Linked DNA regions of Homo sapiens: region 2 is linked to region 1. Evidence: promoter capture Hi-C in 16 types of primary human blood cells and fetal thymus (Javierre and others, 2016). All regions are on one chromosome and are shown on one strand. The core of a region is centred on a gene start or on the middle of the fragment in contact, and the rest is flanking DNA. Distances in the headings are between cores, read along the strand shown. Region 1 holds the start of NWD1 (NACHT and WD repeat domain containing 1). Region 2 overlaps CPAMD8 (C3 and PZP like alpha-2-macroglobulin domain containing 8).

Region 1 (2,743 bases), core at 91-2,590:
CCACCACCAAAGTCGTCACAATTAAAAAGTATCCCTAGGCTGGGTGCAGTGGCTCACACCTCTAATCCCAGCACTTTGAGAGGCCAAAACAGGCAGATTACTTGAGGCCAGGAGTTCGAGACCAGCCTGGCCAACATGGCGAAACCCCATCTCTACTAAAAATACAAAAATTAGCTGGCGCGGTGGCATGTACCTGTAATCCCAGCTACTCGGAAGCCTGAGGCAGGAGAATCGCTTGAACCCGGGAAGCAGAGGTTGCAGTGAGCCGAGATCGTGCCACTGCGCTCCAGCCTGGGCAACAGAGCAAGGCTCCATCTCAAAAAGAAAAAGTCTCGGCCAGGTGCGGTGGCTCACGCCTGTAATCCCAGCACTTTGGGAAGCCGAGGAGGGCAGATCATGAGGTCAGGAGATCGAGACCATCCTGGCTAACACGGTGAAACCCCGTCTCTACTAAAAATACAAAAAATTAGCCGGGCATGTGGCGGACACCTGTAGTCCCAGCTACTCAGGAGGCTGAGGCAGGAGAATGGTGTGAACCTGGGAGGCAGAGCTTGCAGTAACTGAGATCACGCCACTGCACTCCAGCCTAGTGACAGAGCGAGACTCCGTCTCAAAAAAAAAAAAGTCTCCCTAGACATTGCAATGTCCCCTAGGGGGCAGAATTCCCCTTACTCGAGAACCCCCTAGTCTAATGCATTTAGCTTATTTCAACCTCAGGGCCTTTGCACGTCCTGTACTTTAGTGCTCTATGCTGCATCTGTTCATGTTGTTCACATTTTAGCTTCAATGCTACCTCCTCCTGAGAGGCTGTCTCTGACCATCCCATTGCGTAGTGACCCCTTAAGTCACTCCCAATGCCATCGCCTTATTTTAATTTTCTGCATGGTACTCACCAACAGCTGATATGTTTCTACATGTTATTGTTTGTCTGTCCCACGAGAAAGTGAATTCCATGAGCCCAAGGATCTTGTCTGGTAAGGCTGGCGTGCCTGGCACATAGTAGGTGCTCAGTAAATTATCATCACAACAGCTTCCTCCACAACTGTTTCTCTTTCTGGACTTCTGTTTGTTGCTGAAGAAGACAGCTGAGCAGGACTGGGCTTCCCCAGTAAGGACAGAGGCCCTTTGCAGTGTCAGCGTTCTGGCTGTCCTGGGGGCTCCAGCCTCTCTTTAGCCTTTGCTGGTAGTTGAACGACCAATTTAGACTCCTCTGGGGAAATAGGTTAGAGAGGACAGTTTCCTGGCCTCGGCGCCACCCGGAAGACAAGCCCCTGGCTATCCTAGTAACTTTCGTCTTAGGTATTTTATGGGTCTCTCCTTGCCCAATTCTCCCAGCAACTGGGATAATGAAAGCGATTGTTTGCACTAGGGCACCAGCTTAGCCGGGCATTCAGCCCAGACTTAGTGGTTAACTATTGTGTGCCAGGCTGATACGGCTCCTCGTAAAAGATGCCATTTGCTGACAGTCTAGGAGGTGCAGTTGGTTGGCATTTGGCATTAGCAGTCCACATTATTACCCCAAGAGACAGACATTATGATCCTGTTTCACAGATGAAGAAAACAAGATGCAGAAAGGTGAAGTCCCTTGCCTGTGACGCTTCACTACTCTGCACTTGAATTTTCTCACTAACTTCCTGTGTTGGTGAGACAATGAAAAGCATTTATATAGAGAGTGAGACTAACACTACACCTACATCACAGGAAGGGCCCGTGAGATGTTAGCCATGATTAATTACCATTAAAACTCCAAGACCGGGCACGGTGGCTCATGCCTGTAATCCCAGCACTTTGGGAGGCCGAGGCAGGCGGATCACCTGAGGTCAGGCATTCAAGACCAGACTGGCCAATATGGTGAGACCCCTATCTCTACTAAAAATAGAAAAATTAGCTGGGCGTGGTGACGCATGCCTGTAATCCCAGCTACTTGGGAGGCTGAGGCACAAGAATTGTTTGAACCTGGGAGTTGGAGGTTGCAATGAGCCGAGATCCTGCCACTGCACTGCAGCCTGGGCGACAGAGCAAGACTTTGTCTCAAAAACTCACAAATCACCCGGGCATGGTGGCTCACGCTAGTAATCCCAGCACTTTGGGAGGCCAAGGCAGGCAGATCACGAGGTCAGGAGATCAAGACCATCCTGGCTAACACGGTGAAACCCCGTCTCTACAAAAAAAACAAAACAAAACAAAACAAAAAATTAGCTGGGCGTGGTGGTTTGCACCTGTAGTCCCAGCTACTCAGGAAGCTGAGGCAGGAGAATGGCATGAACCCGGGAGGTGGAGCTTGCAGTGAGCCGAGATCGCACCACTGCACTCCAGCCTGGGTGACAGAGCGAGACTTTGTCTCAAAAACTCACAAGTCACCCAGGCATGGTGGCTCACGCCAGTAATCCCAGCACTTTGGGAGGCCAAGGCAGGCAGATCACGAGGTCAGGAGATCAAGACCATCCTGGCTAACATGGTGAAACCCTGTCTCTACATAAAAAACAAAAAACAAAAAACAAAAAATTAGCTGGGCGTGGTGGTTTGCACCTGTAGTCCCAGCTACTCAGGAAGCTGAGGCAGGAGAATGGCATGAACCTGGGAGGTGGAGCTTGCAGTGAGCCGAGATTGCGCCACTGCACTCCAGCCTGGGCGACAGAGCAAGCCTCCATCTCAAAGAAAAAGTAATAATAATAGTGTTACTATATTTTCAGGGATAGAAGTTTCAGATACTTGGTCAGGCGCGGTGGCTCATGCCTGTAAT
Region 2 (2,743 bases), core at 153-2,652, 250 kb before region 1:
GGCTGCAGTCACATTGTGCTATGAAGTATTTCCAGTATTGCTCACTGCCAAATAGGTTCTAACTTTTGGAATGATGCCCATTTTGATGTATGACCTGTCCAGGAAACCTCTTGATTTGGTGGCCAGCCCTGATGAGCCTGTCCATGGAAGTGTTCTCCATCTTTCAAGCCCTCTCTATATAAAACAGGAACCTTCTTGTGCCCCTCCGTCTGCTCCCCAGTGGCTCCTGGATGCTTCAGTCCCCCAGGCTCTTCCTGCTGGGGCCACACGTTTAGCAGGCCTACAGGGTTCCTAGTTTCCCAACTCCTAATCGGGGAATTGGCAGATTAGGCTTCATACTGTAGTTTGGATACACATGGAAGCATTTCAAGATGTGATTGGATGAGGAAGATTGGAATGCTGGCCCCAGGGCCTCTGTCAGCTGGCAGCCACCCCAGAGGCCCTGACCCACTCACATGCATAACCCCTGAGAGCTTGTCCTGGGGCTGGTATAGAAGCAGCAGCTTTGTAAAACTCAAAACCATGAAGGCAATTGTAAATCACAATGGAGAAAGGCATAAGAAATGCCTTCAAAATCAAGTGCCCATGCTTTTTTGTAATTGGAACAAACACATCCTTATTCTGAGAGCAACATGTATATATATACACACATGTGTGTGTATATATGCACATATATACACACACATGTGTGTGTATATATGCACATATATACAAGTATATACACGCACATATGTGTGTATATATATACATATATATATATATTTTGGTGAGACAGAGTCTCACTCTGTTGCCCAGGCTGGAGTGTAGTGGCGCCATCTTGGCTTACTACAAGCTCTGCCTACCGGTTTCATGCCATTCTCCTGCCTCAGCCTCCCAAGTACCTGGGACTACAGGCACCCACCACCATGCCTGGCTAATTTTTGTTGTATTTTTTAGTAGAGACGGGGTTTCACCATGTTAGCCAGGATGGTCTCCATCTCCTGACCTCATGATCCGCCAGCCTTGGCCTCCCAAAGTGCTGGGATTACAGGCATGAGCCACTGCACCTGGCCATATATTTTTAATTATATATGTATTTTCTTTTTTTAAAAAATTATACTTTAAGTTCTAGGGTACATGTGCACAATGTGCAAGTTTGATAGGTATACATGTCCCATGTTGGTTTGCTGCACCCATCAACTCATCATTTACATTAGGTATTACTCCTAATGCTATCCCTCCCCCGGCCCCCCACCCCCCGACAGGCCCCAGAGTGTGATGTTCCCCGCCCTGTGTCCAGGTGTTCTCATTGTTCAGTTCCCACCTATGAGTGAGAACATGCAGTATTTGGTTTTCTGTCTTTGTGATAGTTTGCTGAGAATGATGGTTTCTGGCTTCATCCATGTCCCTGCAAAGGACATGAACGCATCCTTTTTTATGGCTGCATAGTATTCCATGGTGTATATGTGCCACATTTTCTTAATCCAGTCTATCATTGATGGACATTTGGGTTGGTTCCAAGTCTTTGCTATTGTGAATAGTGCCACAATAAACATACGTGTGCATGTGTCTTTATAGTAGCATAATTTATAATCCTTTGGGTATATATCCAGTAACGGGATTGCTGGGTGAAATGGTATTTCTAGTTCTAGATCCTTGAGGAATCGCCACACTGTCTTCCACAATGGTTGAACTAATTTACACTCCCACCAACAGTGTAAAAGCATTCCTATTTCTCCACATCCTCTCCAGCATTTGTTGTTTCCTGACTTTTTAATGATCGCCATTCTAATTGGCATGAGATGGTATCTCATTGTGGTTTTGATTTGCATTTCTCTGATGGCCAGTGATGATGAGCATTTTTTCATGTGTTGGATGCATAAATGTCTTCTTTTGAGAAATGTCTGTTCATATCCTTTGCCCACTTTTTGATGGGGTTGTTTGTTTTTTTCTTGTAAATTTGTTTGAGTTCTTTGTAGATTTTGGATATTAGCGCTTTGTCCGATGGGTAGATTGCAAAAATTTTCTCCCAATCTGTAGGTTGCCTGTTCACTCTGATGGTAGTTTCTTTTGCCATGCAGAAGCTCTTTAGTTTAATTAGATCCCATTTGTCTATTTTGGCTTTTGTTGCCATTGCTTTTGGTGTTTTAGTCGTGAAGTCTTTGCCCATGCCTATGTCTTGAATGGTATTGCCTAGGTTTTCTTCTACAGTTTTTATGGTTTTAGGTCTAACATTTAAGTCTTTAATCCATCTTGAATTAATTTTTGTATAAGATGTAAGGAAGGGATCCAGTTTCAGCTTTCTACATATGGCTACCCAGTTTTCCCAGCACCATTTATTAAATAGCGAATCCATTCCCCATTTCTTGTTTTTGTCAGGTTTGTCAAAGATCAGATGGTTGTAGATGCGTGGTGTTATTTCTGAGGCCTCTGTTCTGTTCCATTGGTCTATATATCTGTTTTGGTACCAGTACCATGCTGTTTTGGTTACTGTAGCCTTGTAGTATAGTTTGAACTCAGGTAGCGTGATGCCTCCCGCTTTGTTCTTTTTGCTTAGGATTGTCTTGGCAATGTGGGCTCTTTTTGGTTCCATATGAACTTTAAAGTAGTTTTTTCCAATTCTGTGAAGAAAGTCATTGGTAGCTTGATGGGGATGGCATTGAATCTATAAATTACCTTGGGCAGTATGGCCATTTTAACTATATTGATTCTTCCTATCCGTTAGCATGGAATGTTCTTCCATTTGTTTGTGTCCTCTTTTATT

The links. Contacts are between HindIII fragments. The CHiCAGO score rates a contact against its expected background, and 5 or more counts as called.
Region 2: a contact is called between a fragment that was not itself captured here and the fragment with the promoter of NWD1 in region 1, in 1 of 17 cell types (M2 macrophages). The highest score is 5.9, in M2 macrophages.

What each region holds. Positions count from the first base shown.
Region 1 is chr19:16,718,444-16,721,186 of GRCh38, reverse strand. NWD1 (NACHT and WD repeat domain containing 1) reads right to left here and starts at 1,340. Exons shown (of 19, transcript NM_001007525.5): 1 at 894-1,340. The HindIII fragment of the contact is 21,822 bases long and covers 1-2,743 here.
Region 2 is chr19:16,965,834-16,968,576 of GRCh38, reverse strand. All of the region lies in intron 18 of CPAMD8 (C3 and PZP like alpha-2-macroglobulin domain containing 8), which reads left to right. Among named protein-coding and RNA genes, the nearest start is that of CPAMD8, 60 kb to the left of the region's middle. The HindIII fragment of the contact is 4,693 bases long and covers 1-2,743 here.